5 separate regions of the Homo sapiens genome follow, and regions 1, 2, 3 and 5 are each linked to region 4. The links are contacts of gene promoters, found by promoter capture Hi-C in blood cells and fetal thymus (Javierre and others, 2016). All regions are on one chromosome and are shown on one strand. The core of a region is centred on a gene start or on the middle of the fragment in contact, and the rest is flanking DNA. Distances in the headings are between cores, read along the strand shown. Region 1 overlaps ABL2 (ABL proto-oncogene 2, non-receptor tyrosine kinase). Region 2 overlaps ABL2 (ABL proto-oncogene 2, non-receptor tyrosine kinase). Region 3 overlaps ABL2 (ABL proto-oncogene 2, non-receptor tyrosine kinase). Region 4 holds the start of AXDND1 (axonemal dynein light chain domain containing 1). Region 5 overlaps ABL2 (ABL proto-oncogene 2, non-receptor tyrosine kinase).

Region 1 (4,575 bases), core at 1,344-3,843, 230 kb after region 4:
ATATTAACTTCTACATTGTTTTATTATTAGGCTATTTGTTATACATATATATGTTGGTTTTTATTTTACTTACATTTTAAAAGTGTTCTCAGAGATTTTGAAGTAACTCCATTCTGACTCAGTCTTTTGCGGATTGCTGGAAATTTTCCTTTAGGTCACTCTCCACCCACTTTGGGAATTGTGAATGCTCACCATTTTATTGGTTCCCTCTGGCCACTGAGTACATGAGTAAATGTCACATGCATGTGGTATTGCTTGTCAGAGAATGGAATTCTAAGACTTCCTCTTTACACAGAACAGTTTAACTTTTGTGCTTCTGGGCAGAGGTATGGTCCTTGGGACAGTTCTCCTTCCACCTAATAGTTATGGCAGAGATCAGGACACTTCACTTTGCTGCCTGTGCACTGAGGCCTCAGAATCTGCTCTACCCGACTTAACAGGTATGGTTCAGAGTTGATAGTTTCAGGGAGGCTTGATAACCACATTAATCAAGTGTGAATGAAGATTTCAAAAAATTCATCTTATCTGCTACTGTTTTTGTCTTCATTCTTGGTCAGTGAAAGTTTGTGTGCTTTCTTGGGGGAATATCTCATAGTAGGATCTCAATAAATACTGAATGGAAGAATGTATGGATAATATGTAGTATTTTGTAATAATAAGATATAGATGGCTTGATGTGAAGAACTTAAGCTATATTGAAAACTGTTGAATAATTTACCTTACATAATTTTTAAAAGAAGTTATTAAAACTTATTAGCTTCTTAGAGAATATACAGTCAGATAAAGTAGAATTCTGGCAAGATAATGTTTATAAAATACTTGAAAATGCCTAAACTAAAAATTTGTAATATTAATTTCTCCTATTACTACCTGACAAATTTCTAATTAAACTGATAAAAGTTACTGAATGACTAACTGGTGAAAAGTATTTTTAATAAAATTAAACATGAAGCTTAGGAATTTTCTCAATTTCAGTTTTATTATTTTGGGTTTTAACTTTTTCAATCATGATAATTTACTTTGTACAAGTGGCTATTCTGTTTTGCTTTATTTTTGTTGTAGCCTGCAACTGTAGCAATAGAAAAAAAATGCCTTTTTTAAATTGTGATAATATATTTCTGTTATCTAGGTTCTTTACATGTGAGTGAAAATCAGTCTTCTCTTATCCCATCTTAAATCTCTGATCTACCTCTATAGCAGTGAATAATGGAAGATAAGTTAACTTGATATCTAAGTTACCTAATTTATAGTAGTCATTTCATTTTGTTCAAAAATAAACCATTCCCAGCCCACACACTTGCATTTGGGCGTATACAGTACATCTGAATCATCCAGACATGTCTGTCTTAACCAATGAGGAAAGTGACATAGACTATAGCTACTGGGTAACACTGACATTTACTTGCTCTTCCCACAGGCTTTTGTTTTCTTTTGTTTTTGCCTTTATCCCTTATCTTGTTCCCCCTCATTTAGTTCCCTTACTCTTTATGATTCAAAATATGTTCGTTCTTAGCTTCAGAAAAATGTTAGGGTGTTTTTCTCTTTGAAAAAGTTTTCCTTTTGTTTGGTGCTAATGGGTAGAATGGTGTTTAAGTGGATATCCTGTGCAGACAGATTGTGCAGGAAATTGACCCTAAGTTCTTTGAGAACAAAAGAGGAGTGGGAAGAAAGAAGAAAGGAAGGAAATAAGATCTTTTGACTCAACCAAAAAGACCGTAAAACCAGAGACGGGAAGAAGGGGAATGGGGAATAAGAAGGATTGTTTTCTAAGTTGTGGTTCTTTTAGTACTTTGGCCTCAAAAATTACTTTTATCCTATAGTTATTACTTTACATATTTCAGAAATATAATATTGTTTGGCCTGCATATATCTTCTAAATTTACATAAAATCGTGCTGTAGATCTCATTCTGTTTTCTCCTTTTGTCAGATAACACAACTTTCAGGAAGTTGACTTGTCTTTAAGAGTCCTCTTTTGGGTTCAGAGTTTCCCCTTATTATAAACATGTCCTTGCGTATTGACAGTCTGTCACTCTACTGTCATCAGTGCAGAATTCCTATTAATCTAATTTTTTTTTTTCTTAAAGACAGGGTTTTGTTCTATTGTCTAGATTGGAGTACAATGGTGTGATCTTGGCTCACTGCAGGCTCAACCTCCCAGGCTCAGACAATCCTACCTCAGCTTCCTGGGTAGCTGGGACTACAGTTGTGTGCCACTATGCCCAGCCAATACTTAATTTTTTTTTTTTTTTTTTTTTTGAGACAGAGTCTTGCTTTGTCACCCAAGTTGGAGTGCAGCAGTCTGATCTCAGTTCACTGCAACCTCTGCCTCCCGGGTTCAAGCAATTCTCCTGCCTCAGCCTCCCGAGTAGTTGGGATTACAGGCACCCGCCACCACACCCAGTCAGGGTTTTGCCATGTTGGCCAGACTGGTCTCGAACTCCTGACCTCAGGTGATCCACCTCGGCCTCCCAAAGTGCTGGGATTACAGACGCTAGCCACCACACCTGATGAAGTCTCATGATGTTGCCCAGGCTGGTCTTGAACTCCTGGCCTCAAGTGATCCTCCCGCCTTGGCTTCTCAAAGTGCTGAGATTATAGGCATGAGCTACTGTGCCTGGCCTGCGTTCATCCAGTTTAAATGTTTATCTAATTTTAAGTCTGAAACCTTGCCAGACTCTAGAGTTTTGTTTTATATTCTTTCCTCTCATAGCATCCTCTGTGAGTAAGGATGTATACATAGTTCATTCATTCAGCAAATCTTTTTTGAGAGCCTCTTATATGTAGACACTGTTCTGGAGTCACTGTTCAGTGAACAAAACAGACAACAATCCTGGTCCTCATAAAACTTACATTTTAGCAAGGAGACTTAGATACATGAATATAATAATAAATAAGTAAATTATACACTATGTTTGGTGGTAATAAGAGCTATGGAGATAAAATAAATCAGGAAAGGAGTCAGTGGGGGATGTGAGAGTGTTATCAAGAATAGATGTACTTTAAAATGGAATAATCAGAGAATGACATACTGAGAAGGTAACATTTGGTGAAATGTCATGGGGAAGAGTGTTTTAGGCAAAAGGAAAAGCCAGCGCAAAGGTCCTGAGGCAGAAGTGTGCCTGCTTTGTTCAAGCAATAGCATTGATGTCAGTGGCCAGAATAAGGTAGAGGAATAGCAGCAGGAGATGCTGGGCAAGACCAATTGTGAAGGACCTTGCAGGGCCTTTAAGGATTTTAGCTTTTACTCTAAAATGGGGAACCTTTGAAGAGTCTTGAACAGAGGAGTAGCAATCTGACTTATGCTCTGAAAGATGGCTGGTATGTTGAGAATAAACAGTAGGGAACAAGCACGGAAGCATGGAAATCAGGAGTCTAGTGAAATAGTCTACATCAGTGGTCCCAACCTTTTTGGCACCAGGGACCAGTTTCATGGAAGTCAATTTTTTCACAGACTGGGTGGGGAGCGGTGGTTTCACATGAAACTGTTCCACCTCAGATCATCAGGCATTAGATTATCATAAGGAGCATTCAACCTAGATCCCTTGCTTGAGCAGTTCACAGTAGGTTTCAGCTCCTGTGAGAATCAAATGCCTCCACTAATCTGACGGGAGGTGGAGCTCAAGCGGTAATGCTCGCTGGCCCGCTGCTCACCTGCTGCTGTGTGGCCCAGTTCCTAACAGGCCACAGACCTGTCTGTGGCCCAGGGGTTGGGGTCCCCTTACCTAGATGATGGTGGTCATGAAGTGGTACTGAATGAGAAGTGGTTAGATTCTGGATATATTTTTGAAGGCAGTGCCAATGGAATTTCTGAGTGAATTGGATGTTGTTTGTGAGAGCAAGAAGGGAGCTGTGTCCGGAATTGGTGGGTTCTTGGTCTCACTGACTTCAAGAATGAAGCCGCAGACCCTCGCGGTGAGTGCTACAGCTCTTAAGGTGGCGTGTCTGGAGTTTGTTCCTTCTGATGTTCAGATGTGTTCGGAGTTTCTTCCTTCTGGTGAGTTCGTGGTCTCGCTGGCTCAGGAGTGAAGCTGCAGACCTTTGCAGTGAGTGTTACAGCTCTTAAGGTAGCGCGTTTGGAGTTGTTCGTTCCTCCCGGTGGGCTCGTGGTCTTGCTGGCTTCAGGAGTGAAGCTGCAGATCTTTGCGGTGAGTGTTACGGCTCATAAAAGCAGTGTGGACCCAAAGAGTGAGCAGTAGCAAGATTTATTGCAAAGAGCGAAAGAACAAAGCTTCCACAGTGTGGAAGGGGACCCGAGTGGGTTGCCACTGCTGGGTGGGTGGCCTGCCCCGCGGGAAGGCAGCTAAGGCCCAGCGAGAAATTGAGCGCAGCACCGGTGGGCTGGCACTGCTGGGGGACCCAGTAGATCCTCCACAGCCGCTGGCCCAGGTGCTAAGTCCCTCATTGCCCGGGGCTGACAGGGCTGGCTGGCTGCTCCGAGTGTGAGTGCGGGGCCCGCCAAGCCCACGCCCACCCGGAACTCCAGCTGGCCCGCAAGCGCGGCAGGCAGCCCCGGTTCCTGCTGGCGCCTCTCCCTCCACACCTCCCTGCAAGCTTGAGGGAGTGGGCTCCGGCCT
Region 2 (4,246 bases), core at 258-2,757, 190 kb after region 4:
CAATGTTGGAGGGGTTTACTGCCACTATTTTTACCTAGCTGATCTTATTGAAAACACACATATATTAGAGGCTTAAATATGATAGTTTTGTTTAAACTCCGTTTCATAATGGGGCTTAAGGTGGGTGGAAGATGGAACAAGAAGGAATGTACTGTTCTTTCAGCAGCATGCCTGGACAGACAGCTGTACTGTTAGAATGTGTCCAAATCCATGTGTGTTCTTTTTGGTGGCAGTTTGCACCATTGCAAGTCTAAAGGATAGTTGGTTATTGGATGTTGTCCATTTGGGATATGATTCTCTTCTTTCCCCCAATGAAATAATTATCACGCTTTTTGCATTTTTGCACATTTAGCTTTGTGGTAGGGGGCGGACTTGGAAGAATTCTTTAAATGTGAAGGAAGAATGGGGGAATTATTATTAAGTATACTCTGAACTGATCTTTATCATTTTAAATGACAGAATAGAAAAATGTTTCACCTAAATTTCAGATGGTTTTTTTCTTTTAAAAATTATTTTAAATTGTGATAAAATAAACACAACATAAAATTTACTTTGTTATCAGATGTTTTAATATCCTCTATTATTTTGTTGGTATAATGTTCTGTTTAAAATATGAATAGTTCCCTGGAGGTGACCCTTATGCACCTTGGCCACGGGAACTCTCTTTCTTCTCTGTTACTTTTCTGTTTCCTACCTGCTACTGGTACTGGACCTTTTTATTCCACTAGTGAAGTCTGATGATAGAACATGGGGGTAGAGAGGTGGTAGGCCTTAGCAGCAGAGTCTCATTCAGTATCTGTGAAACATGGGACATATCAGCTCCTTCCTCTCCTCTAGAACCTTCGTGGCAGCTCCTCAGAGGGAACGTATAAGAAAGCCTGAGTCAGGGTATATACAACTCTGATCTTATTGCTTCCTTGCTTACCAGCTTTTATTGATTTCTTACCATCTTCAGAGTGAGGTCCCAACTCCTTAACAGAGCATCCAAAGCTTTCATAATTTGGTGCATTCCCAATCTCATACATGCTCCTGAGGCTGTAGCCATACTAAAGTACAGGTGGGCCTGTAAATATAGCCTGTCCTTGGCATACAGTAGGTGGTCCAGAAGTATTTCCCCCCTTTTTTTTTTTGTTTTTTTAAGACAGGGTCTCACTCTGTCACCCAGGCTGGAGTGCAGTACCCAGGCTGGAGTGCATGGCTCACTGCAGCCTCAACCTCCCTAGGCTCAAGTGATCCTCCCACCTCAGCCTCCCAGGTAGCTTGGATGACAGGCGTGTGCCACCAACACCTGGCTAATTTTTTTTTTTTTTTGTATTTTTAGTAGAGACAGGGTTTCGCCATGTTGTGCAGGCTGGTCTTGAACCCCTGACCTCAAGTCATCCCCCTGCCTCGCCCTTCCAAAGTCCTGGGATTACAAGCATGAGCCACTATGCCCAGCCAAGACATATTTCTTGAATGAAAGAATATAGTATTAATATATATCACAGTTGTACTATTTTACATGCTAACTTGCTTTTATTCAGTGGCTAACTCTTGAGTTTCCTTTAAGACTCAGGCCAAGAGTCCTCTTTCAAGAGGGCTTCTCTGCGTTTTGTGTATCCTAGTAGACACTCTTGCTCTATGATACCAAAAACATTCAGGCCATATCTCTGTATTATAATAGCTGATTTACTTTTTTGTTTTTCCCGTATTAGTACATGAGGTTCTTGAGGGCCAGGGACCATGTCTTATTTTTACCTTAGTACCCCCTAACTCTGGGCCTGTTCTTCCTAGGTACTTTCTATTACAAAAAAAAAACCCTTTAAGATAGCTGTTGCTCTTGTTTCCTAATATTTACATTATATAACATTATATATTGAATATCTCGGCTTTTAAATTTTATTTTTTTGCCTTTTCAAGGTCAAAATTGCTTAGACACTTGACTTGTGAAATAATCAGTATTCCAATGAGTATAAATCATGACAGTCATAATTAGTATAATGTGATTGCCTATTATGGGATTGGGACGTTGGGTAGGAAGCTTAGAATTGCAGAGTTAATCCTCATGTGGAGGAATTATCTGAGCACTTTAAATAATTGGACAACATTATATAAGCCTTACCCTTTTAGGTCTGAGTTTTGCACATTTTAAACTGGTGACTCATTAAATTGTATTCCTGCTTAGGATGTAACTGTTGTTAATGTAGTTGTGTTTCCTAATTTCCACTGTTTTATCAATGCTCCTTTTCTTTTATACTCTGATGTCAAAAGTTATGTAATCTGGGTATTCCTCAGATTTAATGACTTGGTCAGTGGGTATTAACATTATTTGTTCCTATAAGAAGGCTTTATTTTAGATGTTCTTCCTTTTCTTGAGACAGGGTCTTGCTCTGTTGCCCAGGCTGGAGTGCAGTGGTGTGATCATGGCTCCTCAACTCACTGCAACCTCCACATCCCGGGTTCAAGCAATTCTCCTACTTCAGCCTCCCGAGTAGCTGGGATTACAGGCACCCCCCCCAGCCCACCACACTCAGCTAATTTTTGTATTTTTAGTAGAGGCGGGGTTTCACCATGTTGGCCAGACTTGTCTTGAACTCCTGGCCTCAAGTGATCCACCTGCCTTGGCCTCCCAAAGTGCTGGAATTACAGGCATGAGCCACCATGCCCGCCCGATGTTCTTACTTTTTAAAGTCCAGATCTTGATACTTTTGCCATAAGTTTTTATTCTCTCTGTTCCTAATTTTAGTTATAAGGTCATTTAGTTGAAACAGTGGACGAGGAAACTATAAGCTTACTAAAAATGCCTTGGGTTTCTGGAGCATGAATCTGCATACTCTAAAGATTTCTTACACAAATAATTTTTTTTTTTTTTTTTTTGAGGCAGAGTCTTGCTCTGTCACCCAGTCTGGAATGCAGTGGCGGGATCTCGGCTCACTGCCACCTCTGCCTTCTGGGTTCAAGCAAGCAATCCTCTTACCTTAGCCTCTCAAGTAGCTGGGACTGCAGGTGCATGCCACCACACCCAGCTAATTGTTGTATTTTTAGTGCAGACAGGGTTTCACCATGTTGACCAGGCTGGTCTGGAACTCTTTACGTCAAGTGATCTATCCGCCTCAGCCTCCCAAAGTGCTGGGATTACAGGCATGAGCTACTGTACCTGGTCACTACAAGCTTTAATATAGTTGTTACTTTCAGTAGAATTTTGGCATGTTGGAACTTGAACCTTTTATTTCCAAAATTTGTGTATTCCATTTTATGTAATTATATCCCTGCAGAAATATTAGTATAGGCATATTTACATAGCACCTTAAATACATAGCAGAATGTTTTATACATACAATGAGTAGGGAGACCAGAGTCTTGGATCCCGTATTGTGGGTATTCTATTAGAAGTCTGTGATGCCCAAATGGACCATAATTCATTACGGAAAAGAAATTTTAATAGCAATTTTTCCCTTGGTTACTGATGACTGAGGTATGAGAAGTTCTTATTCTCCAACCAAAAAGCTACTTTTATACTGGTTTCATAACCTCTTAATACATAGTCTAACTTTGCAGAAAAGGACTGTCCACTTTTTATTCTTAAATATTTTAAAAGTTGATTTTACCACCTGTGGTTTCCCAGATAGTCCCTGAAATACTAGATTTACAAAAGAGGTAACTGTTTTACCACCTCCAATTAAATGAATTAATTGTTATCAAATTAAATGAATTAATTGTGGTTAAATCCCAGGTTCCTTAATCTACTGTTTCTTGAAGTTTTGTTGGATAAGGAAGGAAACAGTAGTAACAACTGACTGCCCTTCTGAATTCTGCTGTTAGTCCTAGGGCAAGATGCTCCCAGAAACAATCTCCCTGAGGATGACTGTAGTTGGAGGGGGATGGTATGCCACGACTATTCTTGGAACTTGACTTGGCTGTTTCTGTGCCTCTTTGGCAGAGGCCAGAAGGGCTGGGTTGAATCTCGGGGCATCTTTGGAATAATCAGGATGCTTAGTATAGCAGCCTGGCTTGCAACTAGGGTTCAGTGGTCTTGACAGTGTTTGTTGGCTTGTTTTTTTGTTTATTTCTCACATTGTTTTTAATCCCTGTTCTTCTTGTCAGAAATAGGAACCTGCTCCTCACTTGCTCATCTCTCCTAGGCTAGGGTGTTAAATTAAGTCTTTCTCTTCTATTGATTCATTCACTCTCTTAAGTGTTGGACATCAAAAGCAAGGTTTTATTTCAAAAAAGAAGTGTACCTCTTTATAGTTTTCTTAGGATAAGA
Region 3 (4,125 bases), core at 183-2,682, 240 kb after region 4:
AGGAGGATCACCTGAACCTGGGAGGTCAAGGCTGCAGTGAGTCATGATTGTGTCACTGCACTCCAGGCCGGGCAACCGAGTGAGACCCTTATTTCTCAAAAATACATAAAAATTAAGGCTCCCTTGGGAGAGAAGTCCAGAGAATTCCCTCTTACTTTACATTTCTTATTGCTTAGCAAATTAACAACTATTTTGTAAGCAATTCTGTGAAATCCAGTGTGGCTCTTTTCTTTTTTTTAGATGGAGTCTTGCTCTGTCACCCACTCTAGAATGCAGTGGCGTGATCTCAGCTCACTGCAACCTCCACCTCCCAGGTTCAAGCAATCCTCCCACCTCAGCCTCCCAAGTAGCTGGGACTGCAGGCACGCACCACCAAGCCTGGCTAATTTTTGTATTTTTAGTAGAGAGGAGGTTTCACCATGATGGCCAAGCTGGTCTCAACTCTTGACCTCAAGTGACCTGCCCACCTCAGCCTCCCAAAGTGCTGGGATTGCAGGTGTGAGCCACTGCTCCTGGCCACCGGTAAATTGTGGCTCTTTCTTTAATGGCCTAGACACTCAACTGCACGTCATAATTAAAATTATGAGATATTTGAATACTCTTACCAAAAAAATCTAAATCAGTGGTTTTCAAGTTATGTTTTTTACAAGATTAAGGTGATATTTTGTAAATTTCTACAAGAGGCCAAGTCCTTGCTTGCCTACTTTGATCAGGGTATCTCTTCTTTACGTATCTTCTGTAGTTGAGTCCATAGTCTTGTGGCTTAAAAATATTTGAAGACTGGCCGGGCGTGGTAGTTCACACCTGTAATCCCAGCAATTTGGGAGACTGAGGCAGGCAGATCACTTGAGGTTAGGAGTTCCTGACCAGCCTGGCTAACATGGTGAAACCCCATCTCTACTAAAAATACAAAGAAAAAAATTAGCCAGGCGTGATGGCGCATGCCTGTAATCCCAGGTACTTGGGAGGCTGAGGCAGGAGAATCACTTGAACCCAGGAGGCGGAGGTTGCAGTGAGCTGAGGTCATGACACTGCACTCCAGCCTGGGCAACAGAGTGAGACTCTGTCTCAAAAAAAAGAAAAAAAGAAAAAGAAATATATATTTGAAAAAATACATAATTTGAGTATATATATATTTGAAAATATATATATATTTGAAGACCAATGAGCTTGATTATCCAGAGAGAGATCTTGGAAGGTTTTTCCCAAGACTAATTTAGGAAGAATAGGAAAGGCAGATTAAATAAGATTAAACTGAAGTTCTGTGTTTACCCTTGCAATCATCATTTAACTTTTTTATTTACCTCAATTAAGATAAACTCTTGCTGGGTATACTGGCCCAGTCTGTAATCTCAGCACCTTGGGAGGCCCAGGCAGGAGGATTGCTTGAGGCTGGCGTTTGAGACCTGCCTGGGCAATAGTGAGACCCTGTCTGCAGAATATTTTTTTTTTTTTTTTTTTTTTTAAAGATAGCCTTCTATCTATATCTTCAGGCCAGTGAAATATGGGCTTTAAAAAAGAATTCCTAGGCCGGGAGCGGTGGCTCATGCTTGTAATCCCAGCACTTTGGGAGGCTGAGGCCGGCAGATCACGAGGTCAGGAGATCAAGAACACGGTGAAACCCCATCTCTACTAAAAATACAAAAAATTAGCCGGGCATGGTGGCGGGCGCCTATAGTCCCACCTACTCAGAGAGGCTGAGGCAGGAGAATGGCGTGAACCCGGGAGGCGGAGCTTGCAGTGAGCCGAGATCGCGCCAGTGCACTCCAGCCTGGGTGACAGAACAAGACTCCATCTCAAAAAAAAAAAAAAAAAAAAAAAAAAAATTCTTAATCTCTTTTCAAGTTGTTTAGCTTTTCTCCTTTTCTTACCAGGTGTATGTGACTGCTGAGAGCCGCTTCAGCACCTTGGCAGAGCTTGTACACCATCACTCCACAGTGGCTGATGGGCTGGTGACAACATTACACTACCCAGCACCCAAGTGTAATAAGCCTACAGTCTATGGTGTGTCCCCCATCCACGACAAATGGGAAATGGAGCGAACAGATATTACCATGAAGCACAAACTTGGGGGCGGTCAGTATGGAGAGGTTTACGTTGGCGTCTGGAAGAAATACAGCCTTACAGTTGCTGTGAAAACATTGAAGGTGGGTTGCTGAGAATTACAGTTTTCAGGCATCTTTTTCTTTTGTGCTCAATCACTTGGAAATATCAGCATGCCCTTCTTTAACTTTGGAACACTTTCCACCCACTAGTGCCAAGCACATCAGCAAATTGAGATGATTAACCCTAGTGCCATTGCTGACAATGCAGAGGTAGATTATTCACTGCAATGCAGTGAAACCCACATGTGGGAAAGGTCTGTCTCTGGAGGCTGTTGATGTAGATCTTAGTGGGAGGTTAGAAGCAAATTAAAAGTTATAAAAGCAAAATAAGCTCTTTTGCTTCCTGAGAACGACCCCTGCTGGACAGAATTCTTGTCTGAGAGTCATGGGCCTCTTTCTTGTTCTGTCCTTTCTCTCCCTTGTTCTTGTTCCTCCTGTCTCTTTGCAGTTAGATCACTTCTTAATATTAACAGAAATCTTTTTCGTAGTACTACTATATGTCTCCTTTAAACATCCCAGTATCAAATTATAAGGTTTTCACTCACTTGATTCTCCCAGAGCCTCAGTAACTGTCTCTGGTGTATCACTTATAAGGGCTATTCTTTAGCTATTAAGTAGTAGTCAGTTCTGTTTCTTAAGCATATTCTGAGTGTGAAGCAATATATAAGGCCTTGCTCTCTAAGAAGATTATGATCTAAGCAAGAAGATAAGTATGTAAGCAGCTAAGTGCTCTGTCTCGTCATTCAAAGCCTGAGATATCTGGAGAAGTAAACTATGAGAGAACTGAACTATCCAATACAGGGCTCCTGTGTTTCAGTTGATTATAGGACACGATTGCTGAATTTTGCTCCTCCTGCTAATTTTTACTCCAGGGCATTTTTCTTTCTAAGTTGGACTTCTTAAAATAATAATTATTTCAGCTGGGCGTGGTGGCTCACACCTGTAATCCCAGCAATTTGGGGAGCTCAGGTGGGCGAATCACCTGAGGTCAGGAGAGCATCCTGGCCAACATTGCAAAACCCCGTCTCTACTAAAAATACAAAAAGTAGCCAGGCATGGTCGTGCATGCCTGTAATCCCAGCTACTTGGGAGGCTGAGCCAGGAGAATCGCTTGAGCCCAGGAAGCGGAGGTTGCAGTGAGATCACACCACTTCACCCCAACCTGGGTAACAGAGCGAGACCGTGTCTCAAAAAAATAAATTAAATTAAAATAATAATTATATCTTGTAATATGCTAAAATATTCAAAAGATAGTTTTTACTTTTAAAGCTGAAGCTTTATGATTGTGAGATGAATGAAATGATTTTAAGTTGAGGGTTTGTCCCTCTCGTTTTCTTCTTTCTTACCTTTCCCTTTTTCTAGGAAGATACCATGGAGGTAGAAGAATTCCTGAAAGAAGCTGCAGTAATGAAGGAAATCAAGCATCCTAATCTGGTACAACTTTTAGGTGAGGAACCTTGCCTGAACCATAGATTTCCTCCAAAAATGCTTGCCCTTTAACCCCTTGTTATCTCCAAATGCTTTTTTTTTTTCTTTTTAAATATAGAGACAGGGTCTCGCTCTGTTGTCCAGGCTGCTGTTGACGTGATACTTCCGCCTGGGCCTTTCAATATGTTGGGATTACAGGCATGAGCCACCATGCCCCGCCTTTTTTCCTCCCCCAAACCTTTCTTTTTAGTCACCATGGTGGAAGCTGCAGGTTTGAATCCACTTCAATAAATAGTTATTTTAATCAGTAGGTTCTGTGTTTAAAAATAGCCCAAGAAACAGTGGCCTGGATTGATTTTGGTGTATAAAACTGCTCAGTTTGTACTAATTGCCCCAGATTCAAAGTTCAGAAGTGTTCAAAATGGTACTGAACCAAAAACTCATGAAATGTTTTTGCAAAATAAAGAGACATTAAACAAAGGACTGTTGAAAAGAAGCAAATTAAAAACTGTGACCACACCCCTCAGTTTACCTTTACAAGCAGGAAATGCTTTATTATGTTAGATTGGCTTTTCACTGTTCAGGTCACAAA
Region 4 (4,471 bases), core at 1,794-4,293:
AAAATAATGTTCCCCATTACTCTACATATGTACATACAAACCTTTGGGGTTTTAATTTTCTTAGGAGGTAGTAAGTTTTCAGGACAAGGACCAGCATTGGCCGCATAGGTCAGAGAAAGAAGAACTTCTTTGGGAATGAACTCATTCTGAAGGGAAGTAGGAAGGAGTTTTGAACGATCCACCATATTTTTTTTCTCCTTTAGCTCAGGAAGTCCTAAGTAAGTAGTGGAAAAGAAAAACTCTTACTATATATTTTTTTAAGTTAGATGGAGCTTCTCAGACTGCCTCATCAATCCCATCTGTTTCTAACAGAGAGAAACATTGCTTCTATTTGACAAAGATAGTAACAAATAATATTGAAAACAGTGAACATCATCTAGTCAAGGAAAATAACATTCATCTTGCCTACCCTACTCACATTACATCAGACACAGTTTCAAAAACTCAGGTACCAAGATGAACCTGCATGATTCTCAATTCAAAGTTGAAAACTAAACTCATTTCACTTGCTCAGGTAACTGGGAGAGCCTTAAGAAGACAGGAATGAATGTCTATTTTCCCTTTCATATGAAAATCACAAATCTCTCCCCCCAAGCTGTCAAATTATTTAGTAATTTTTTTCTTACATGAATTCAAAGGTGAGAATAATTGCATTAAATCGAGGCATTTATAGAGTGGAAAGGCTCTGGGTTGGGCTTAAAAGTAAAGATGGAACTGGGATTGTTGCAAATGAGAGTGGAACAATCTGAGCTGACAAATCTGTGGAATGGGAACTGTAAAAAGAGTGTTCTACCCTGCTTGACTAGGGCAGGGGAGTAATAAAGGCAGGTAGTTGGGATAATGTAGGAAAAGCCCTCCTATGAAGTCAGTCAGGTAGGGTTGAGTTGTTATTCTTCTTAATCTATGCCTGTAACATGGTATGGTTTATGTTTATTTCTATAAGGAGGTATCATGCTTTGATTACTATCAAAAGTTGTTAGGGTTTACATTACCAAATCTCCTGAGAGCTTGAGATCAAAAGAAACAGAAGAAAAAAAAAAAAGTTGGGTGGGGCTTGGGGTTTTAGTACAAGGTGCAGGTGAGATGGGAAAAGCTTTAACAGAACCGGGTAAGGATAACACTAGCTGACTCTAGTACAGATCCGCATATGAACGAAAATCTTAAGGAATTGCTCTCATTTAGAAAAATTACTAAAAGCTAATACAAATTGGCACATTGTACTAAATTGAGTTTCTCTTATCTCTGCTATTACTTTTTGTTTCTTTATTTACTTATTTGAGACCAAGTCTACCTCTGTTGCCCAGGCTAGAGTGCAGTGGCAAGATCTTGGCTCACTGCAACCTCTGCCTCCCGGGTTCAAGTGATTCTCCTGCCTCAGCCTGCCGAGTAGCTGGGATTACAGGCGAGTGCCACCACACCAGGCTAAATTTTGTATTTTTAGTAGAGACCGGGTTTCACCACGTTGGTCAGGCTGGTCTCAAACTCCTGACCTCGTGATTTGAGACGGAGTCTCGTTCTGTCGCCAGGCTGGAGTGCAGTGGCGCAATCTCGGCTCACTGCAACCTCCACCTCCCGGGTTCAAGCGATTCTCCTGCCTCAGCCTCCTGAGTAGCTGGGACTACAGGCACGAGCCACCACGCCCCCCCTAATTTTTGTATTTTTAGTAGACAGAGTTTCTCCATGTTGGCCAGAATGGTCTCAATCTCTTGACCTCGTGATCCGCCAGCCTCAGCCTCCCAAATGGGATTACAGGTGTGAGCCACTGTGCCCGGCCTATTTATTTATTTATTTTGAGATGGGGTCTTGCTCTTGTCTCCCAGACTGGAATGCAATGGCTCGATCCTGGCTCACTGCAACCTCACCTCCTGGGTTCAAGCGATTCTCTTGCCTCAGCCTCCAGAGTAAGCTGGGACTACAGGCGCGAGCCACCATGCCCGGCTAATTTTTGTATTTCTAGTAGAGACGGGATTTCATCATATTTGGCCAGGCTGGTCTCGAACTCCTGACCTCAAGTGATCCGCCCACCTCGGCCTCCCAAAGTGCTGGGATTACAGGCGTGAGCCACCGCGCCCTGCCTCACTATTACTTTTTCCAAAGTTCCTTAAAGCCAAAGACCAGGAACCAAAAAATACGTAACTATTGATATTTAAAATAGGTTGAATTTAAAATCATATATAAATCAACATTTGAAAAAAAGTATAAACTGTATTTAGATGGAGTAGTGAAACAGTACTCTGACTCAAAATACTGTAAAAGGAATGACTTCTTGCTTTATTTAAGCAAGTGTGTTAGAAAAATGTAGCCAATCAAGGTATTCTGAATATCAGATTTAAAAAACCGGTGAATGGAAGGTGATTTCTGTCTTACGGCCATGACTGTTTATGACTTCAGAATCAACGAAGTTTACCTCTTGTCCCTTCCTTGGCTACAGACACTTTTAACTTTTTGCTCTCAGATGTTGATGTAGAGTTTAGCGGGGTGGAGGGCGTTTTCGGGAGAGACATAATAAACAATGCCTCCTATCTCTTTAGTAATTTGAAATAGTCCTCCGGAAAGCTAATTTAGACACAAATCAGCGCCGCACTGGGACTTGCAGGCTGCCACATAGTCCTGCAGGCAGAGGAAAAAAGATTTAAAAAAAAAAAAAAAGATGACAACTATTGAGTACTTAGGTTCAGATCGCAGTTTAGAATTCATCTAGCATGGTTCTCCTTCTTCGGGGCGACCTCTATGTTCTGGGGTTATGTGTAGCGACTAAGAAGCCTTAGTGGACCGTCAGGTCGGGGTCAAGGAGCAGGGCAGGAAGGACCCGCTCGGCGGACCCCGCAGACCGCCGGCACCCCTGGTGGGGGACACTCGCTGCAGGCGGCTCGGCTGGGGACCATACCTTCCCCACAGGCAGCGCTCTCGCGCGCCAGTTCCACAAACTCGCGAGTTGGGCAGGCCTCGCACTGCTTCTTGGTTTAAAATGACGGGAAAGGGACACCCGCGATCCTACCCACACATTGCGTACCCGCCCAGCATCCGCTCACTTCCTCCTTTGCTGGAACGCCTGTTTGTCGTCATAGAAACCCAGGGCCCCGAGGTTTAGCGCCCTCCATAGGGGCTGCCTTCAGCGGTGCCGGCGGAGGAGGGAGACAGCTAAGACAATCCCTACACCCTCTTGGAGTTTCTTATGTTCTAAGTCACAGCATAGGTTCAGTAGCAAAGGAGAAGAAAAACGTTTAATCCCGCCGTTGTCACGGAATCCGAAAGTGTCTCACGCCGGGGCTTCCTGCCGCGGGCCAGGCCAGTGCGCAGGCGCCGGTGGGGGTTAGCTCGAGGGGCCGACCCCTGTAGCCCGTGACGCACGCGGGTTAAGCAAGGGTCTTCTGAGTTGTTTCCATCTTTCTAGCTCTCTTTTTTGTTGCTTTGCATATTTTTCTTTCTCTTTCTTCCTCTTTTTCTTTCTTTCTCTTTTTTTCCCCTGAGACGGAATTTCCCTCTTGTCGCCCAGGCTGGAGTTTAATGGTGCGATCTCGGCTCACTGCAACCTCCACCTCCTGGGTTCAAGCAATTCTCCTGCCTCAGCCTCCCAAGCAGCTGGGACTACAGGCAGACGCCACCATGCCCGGCTAATTTTGTAGTTTGTTTTTTGTTTTGTTTTGTTTGAGACGGAGTCTCGTTCTGTCGCGCTGGCTGGAGTGCAATGGTGCGATCTCAGCTCACTGCCACCTCCGCCTCCCAGGTTCAAGCGATTCTCCTGCCTCAGCCTCCCGAGGGACTACAGGCGGGGGCCACCATGCCCGGCTAATTTTTGTATTTTTAGTAGAGACGGGGTTTCACCATATTGGCCAGGCTGGTCTCAAACTCCTGACCGCGCCCGCCTCGGCCTTCCAAAGTGCTGGGATCATAGGCGTGAGCCACTGCGCCCGGACGCTTTGCATATTTTTCTAAAAGCCAGACTCAGGGGGATGTTGGGTAATAAGAAACGCTGGGTCCCTTATTGGGTAAGCCGTCCAGTGCTTTACATTTCGGTCACGTCTTCCTTGGACCCTTAAATGCCTCCCCCCAGAGCACAAGGAAGGCCTCCTGGGCCCAGATTTTTCACCCCCTTGGGGCAGGGAAGGAGGATTGAGCTTAGGTGGAACCAGCTCAGGTATAATTGTCGGGGCTTCTGGCGTGAAAATCTGCCCTCAGGAAAGAATACCATCAGCGGCCGGTGGCTCACGCCTGTAATCCCAGCACTTTCTTAGGCCGAGGCGGGTGGATCACGAGGTCAGGAGTTCGAGACCAGCCTGACCAACATGGTGAAACCCCGTCTCTACTAAAAACACAAAAATTAGCCAAGAGAGGTGGCGCGCGCCTGTAATCCCAGCTACTCAGGAGGTTGAAGCAGGAGATTCGCTTGAACCGGGGAGGAAAGGGTTGCGGTGAGCCGAGATGGCGCCACCGCACTCCAGCCTGGGCAACAGAACGAGACTCCGTCTCA
Region 5 (4,568 bases), core at 286-2,785, 160 kb after region 4:
ATTTGGGTCACCCATTATGTTACATGCAGCACTCTGAGCCCCTTCGTTGGAGACACTACTCATGTTTCTATCTAGTAACTACATTTATCTGAAACTCTAGAATAACCGATGTACAGAGTCTATTAATCAGATTCAGAGGAGGTTTCTCTTGGTCTAGACAACTGTGAATGAAACAAATAAGTTATCAGTTGGTCTAAAACAATCATCTTAGTTTTTTTGTGTGTGTGTTTGTTTTGCTTTTTGAGACAGGGTCTTGCTCTGTCACCCAGGCTGGAGTGCAGTGGCGTGATCTTGGTTCACTGTACTCTCTGCCTCTCAGGTTCAAGCGATTCTCATGCCTCAGCCTCCCGAGTAGCTGGGATTACAGGCATGCGCCACCACCTCTGGTTAATTTTTGTATTTTTTAGTAGAGAGGGGGTTTTGCCATGTTGGCCAGGCTGTTCTTGAACTCCTGGCCTCAAGTGATCTGCCCGCCTCGGCCTCCCAAAGTGCTAGGATTACAGGTGTGAGCCACCAGACCCAGCTCATCTTAGTATTTTTGTAGGTTCCTTGCTGGGTGGGAGTAGAGATGCGGAGGGAACTTTCACTTTTAACTCTGCATATGTCTGTGTTATTTGAATATTTTTTTGCAGTGAGCAGATAGCATGTAAAAGGAAATATTTTGCCGGAGGTGGTGGCTTATGCCTATAATCCCAGCACTTTGGGAGGCAGAGGCGGGTGGATCACCTGAGGTCAGGAGTTCGAGATCAGCCTGGCCAACATGGCAAAACCCTATTTCTACTAAAAATACAAAAATTAGCTGGGCGTGATGGCGCCCACCTGTAATCCCAGCTACTCGAGAGGCTGAGGTAGGGGAATTGCTTGAACCTGGGAGGTGGAGGTTGCAGTGAGCTGAGATCAGGCCACTGTACTCCAGCCTGGGCGACAGAGCGAGAGACTCCATCTCTAAATAAATAAATAAATAAATAAATGGAAATATTTTAAAAGCCTAAAACTTTTAATCCTCACATCAGCTCTTTCTATTAGATAGGTATCATTATCATCTCCGTTTTACAAATAAGGACATTGAATTACTGGGATGTTAAATAACGTGCGCAAGGCCACACAGCCAAGGAAGTAGTAAAGAGAAGGGTCAAAGAGCCAGGCAGTTTAGCTCAAGTGTACTGCCTTAACCACCAGGCTATGCTGCCTGTTATAAAAATGCAGTATTTAAAACAGCGTGATACTGGCACGTAATTTGACAAAAGAATTCTCTTATCCCAATTTCATACTAAATGAAATAATGTATAGCATGTGGGGCCAGAGCTGGAACATGAGACCTGAGACCTAACTGTAAGCTATTGCCTACCAAGATGCCTTTCTTAATGCATGGGCTTCTTTGCATAGCTTGTTACAATAATACAAATAGAGGTTATTTTTTTTTTCTTATTTGCAGTGAACATAGCAACAAAAAAAAAAGACTGTTTACTTTGAGAAGAATGATCTTTGGGATAATAATACTTGAAAATGAGGGATGATCCAGGAAAGTTACCTGGAGAGGATGACCTCAGTGAGAGGGCAGTCTGTACTGATAGGGAGGGTGATGGTGCATACTAACTGGTTTCCAATTTGAAGATCTTTTCTGGAGTACTTAGTTGTATTTTATTTATTTTGATCACTGAGTTTTAAGGAAACAGCTTACAAAGGCAACAGAAGAGAGGAAAACCTTCATTCTTTGTGCAAGTATAAAATGTTTATTAAAACACAGAGATTTTGTTTTGACGTTAGGAAATAGAAAAAATATAAGCCATTTATATACTACATTCTTCCTTTACTTCTCTGATGGGAAATGAAAAAAATGATTTGTTCTTTTTACAAATGCAGTATGTTTTATTACGGGAAAAAATCAAGCAAAAACTAAAAACAAACCCCATACCCACTTTCCTACTGGGAGACAACAATCTAATAAAAGTTCTGGGGTGTATCCTTTTAAGCCTCTTTGATGTGTGTATCATTTTGTATTGCTAACCAAAACATATACAAAGCAATTTTTTGTTGTCATTTTTCACTCATGTATTTTGAACCTTCTAAACTGGAGATCTTAAATTGAAGGAGAAAGGGTTTTTGGTGGTTGGTTTTTGTTTTTACCTCTTTTTAGAACTTACTTCACATTTATTTCTTTTCACACTATTTAACATCCAGTACTTTTGTCTTACAATTTTTATTGTTATTTGTTTCTTCTGTTAGATTCAGTTCCTTGAAGGCGTCTGTATTCTTCATTCTGTTGAGCTCATATTAAGTTTACATGAGGACAGGACATATGTTAACAGAAGTGATTGTAGGGGAAAAAGGCAGAAGACATTTCAGCAGTTATTTCAGGGTACAGATCAATCACTGATTCACTTACAGTCCAGTGTTACTTAATTTGCTGGTGTAACCAAAAACTAAGGAAGTACACATTTGTATACAGGTATTTAGGCTCCTTTCCTATTTTTTAAGCTGAGGTAAAATATTCTTGTGATGTTAATTTTTTTATGTGACCTGTTGAACAGAACATACTCAGTCTAAGATACTGTTAACTATTGAAAACAAAAATGTGTAGGAGGACAGCAAGGCTAATTCCTTTTAAAATGTCATGAGTTAATTTCTTTTAAGAAGAGGGAAGCGTGGGTTTCCTGACTAGTTTTTAGGTGGTGATTTTTAAAAGAATAGCACTTCCATATTGTTAGCAGCTAATCTGGAAATTTGCATATTAATTGGTAATAAGCAGAAATAAGAGCCAAGATTTTCTTTTCTTTGCTGAAAAAGTATTAATAGTTACCAATTCTGTTACAGTATAGAAGACCAATAATGATATATATGTTAAATTGCATCAAATGATATTTATCCCAGTGTGCTGAGATTATTTTTTTTTTTTACTATCTTTAAATCTTTTTTTTTCTTTTGCCTCAAAAAGTGACATTTATTCAAAGAAAAAAAAATGACAAGATGTCCATCCCTTGGCTCCCTTCCCTCTCCTCTCCTGCTGTTCCTCGGACCCCTGAGATTGAGCCCTGGCTGGGGTTGGGTGGCAGGACAGCCCCTCAGATGAGGTCGGCAACATTGAGGGGCATTTCCTCAATGGAGGTGTTGTAGAGGGTCTTGATGTCTCAAAGAGTCCTTTTGTCTTCTTCTGTCACCATGTTAATAGCCACACCTTTATGGCCAAACTGTCCACCTCAACCGATTCTGTGGATATAATTTTCCCTATTGGTGGGAAGGTCATAGTTGATGACTAAAGAAACTTGCTGCATATCAATGCCTCTGACCTACGTCAAGAAAGACAACTCTTCAGCATGTGCACAAGAGGACACGCTATCCCGAAAGGAAGACTCTTGGGTATCCATGTAGGCAGCCAAGGAAGGCAGAGGAAATAACCAGCCCTGTTCCCCAAATGCCTTAGGCATGCCAGATTCTGTTCCAGGTTGCTACTTTCCTGAGAGGGGCACTGGATGTTCCCCTTGGAGAGGGAATCACCTTGGATTACTATCTTTAAATCTTAAAGGGATTTTTCTCATAGATATTCTACTTAAGTATAGACAAATAATTTAATCATCCCATAATGTATCCACCATATTTGTGGCTTGTAAAAGTTTTAAAAGTTGGGCATAAGTAGCTGATAAGTTACAAAAAGATACAAATTTCAATAAGGTAATTTTAGTTAAAGTGACAGGAAATGGGGGTGCATTTTGAATAGAAAAACACAGAACTCCAAAAACAAGACAAAAAACCATGTTATTTCCAAAGAGAACATCTCAGTTGTGCAGAAAGAATTAACATAGCAGGCCTGATTGAGACTGATATGCTTAGCGAGGTCTGCTTGCAAGGTTGGCCCTTGGCTGGCATCTAGGAACTTAGATTTGGGGAGGGTTCCTACATTTCCAGAACCAAAAAGAGTGGCCCATTGTGCCTAAGCTGTTTGTATAAACAATGTGGTTTATAGAGAACACCTTTCTTTCTGGGAGTCTGGAATTTTGCTGTGTAGTAGGCAGAGGGTGCTTATGTGATCACCCCCTAAGAAGAACCTTGGAGACAGCATTTTACACATGTTGTTTTAATTCATTGCTGGAGGAAGTAAGTATGTCTTGTGTGACTCCACTGGGAGAAGACTTGGACACTTGCGCCTGGTTTTCTCTGGACATTGCCCCATGTACCTTTTTCCTTTGCTGATTTTGCTTTATATCCCTTTGCTGTGATAAAGCACGGCCATGAGTACAACTATGTGCTGAGTTTTCTGAGTCCTCCTAGTGAATCATCAAATCTGAGGGTGTTCTTGAAGATTTCCAATACAATAGTGGATCAGATAAGTTTATAATTGGAATCTCCATGTTCATACAAAATCTCTACATGGAAGCTTTCAATGGGTAGGTAGCATTTTTTGGGTTTAAGTTGTGCCCAAATGGGGTGGGAGATAGAATATGCGAAACTAAAAGTTTGGGATCTGAAGGAGAGAAAAAAAGGCTCTTAATTTGTGACTGAAAAACTTCTGTTTAACTTTTATCTTTGTGAAACTGTACCTTGCTGTCTAGCTATCTGATAAGGTTCTGTAC

What was found. The method cuts DNA at HindIII sites, captures the fragments that hold promoters and counts their contacts. A CHiCAGO score of 5 or more calls a contact.
Region 1: a fragment that was not itself captured here is called in contact with the fragment with the promoter of AXDND1 in region 4 in 1 of 17 cell types (naive CD4 T cells); the score reaches 6.2 in naive CD4 T cells.
Region 2: a fragment that was not itself captured here is called in contact with the fragment with the promoter of AXDND1 in region 4 in 1 of 17 cell types (activated CD4 T cells); the score reaches 5.2 in activated CD4 T cells.
Region 3: a fragment that was not itself captured here is called in contact with the fragment with the promoter of AXDND1 in region 4 in 11 of 17 cell types (total CD8 T cells, naive CD4 T cells, activated CD4 T cells and 8 more); the score reaches 17.1 in total CD8 T cells.
Region 5: a contact is called between a fragment that was not itself captured here and the fragment with the promoter of AXDND1 in region 4, in 3 of 17 cell types (activated CD4 T cells, neutrophils and naive CD4 T cells). The highest score is 6.3, in activated CD4 T cells.

Annotation. Positions count from the first base shown.
Region 1 is chr1:179,138,798-179,143,372 of GRCh38, reverse strand. All of the region lies in intron 1 of ABL2 (ABL proto-oncogene 2, non-receptor tyrosine kinase), which reads left to right. Among named protein-coding and RNA genes, the nearest start is that of TOR3A, 59 kb to the right of the region's middle. RefSeq lists enhancers at 1-730, 4,049-4,555. The HindIII fragment of the contact is 3,277 bases long and covers 955-4,231 here.
Region 2 is chr1:179,177,012-179,181,257 of GRCh38, reverse strand. The region is part of intron 1 of ABL2 (ABL proto-oncogene 2, non-receptor tyrosine kinase); the gene reads left to right. Among named protein-coding and RNA genes, the nearest start is that of ABL2, 51 kb to the left of the region's middle. The HindIII fragment of the contact is 1,030 bases long and covers 993-2,022 here.
Region 3 is chr1:179,119,617-179,123,741 of GRCh38, reverse strand. It overlaps ABL2 (ABL proto-oncogene 2, non-receptor tyrosine kinase), which reads left to right. Exons shown (of 12, transcript NM_007314.4): 5 at 1,875-2,147; 6 at 3,468-3,552. Among named protein-coding and RNA genes, the nearest start is that of TOR3A, 40 kb to the right of the region's middle. The HindIII fragment of the contact is 3,901 bases long and covers 1-3,382 here.
Region 4 is chr1:179,364,543-179,369,013 of GRCh38, reverse strand. AXDND1 (axonemal dynein light chain domain containing 1) reads right to left here and starts at 3,043. Exons shown (of 26, transcript NM_144696.6): 1 at 3,014-3,043; 2 at 2,408-2,610; 3 at 42-214. The coding sequence starts at 2,504. RefSeq lists enhancers at 2,643-2,712, 3,093-3,492. The HindIII fragment of the contact is 9,843 bases long and covers 1,096-4,471 here.
Region 5 is chr1:179,200,421-179,204,988 of GRCh38, reverse strand. The region is part of intron 1 of ABL2 (ABL proto-oncogene 2, non-receptor tyrosine kinase); the gene reads left to right. It overlaps LOC124900429 (small nucleolar RNA SNORA67), which reads right to left and starts at 3,502; the gene lies at 3,362-3,502. It also overlaps the pseudogene EIF4A1P11. The HindIII fragment of the contact is 5,678 bases long and covers 1-4,374 here.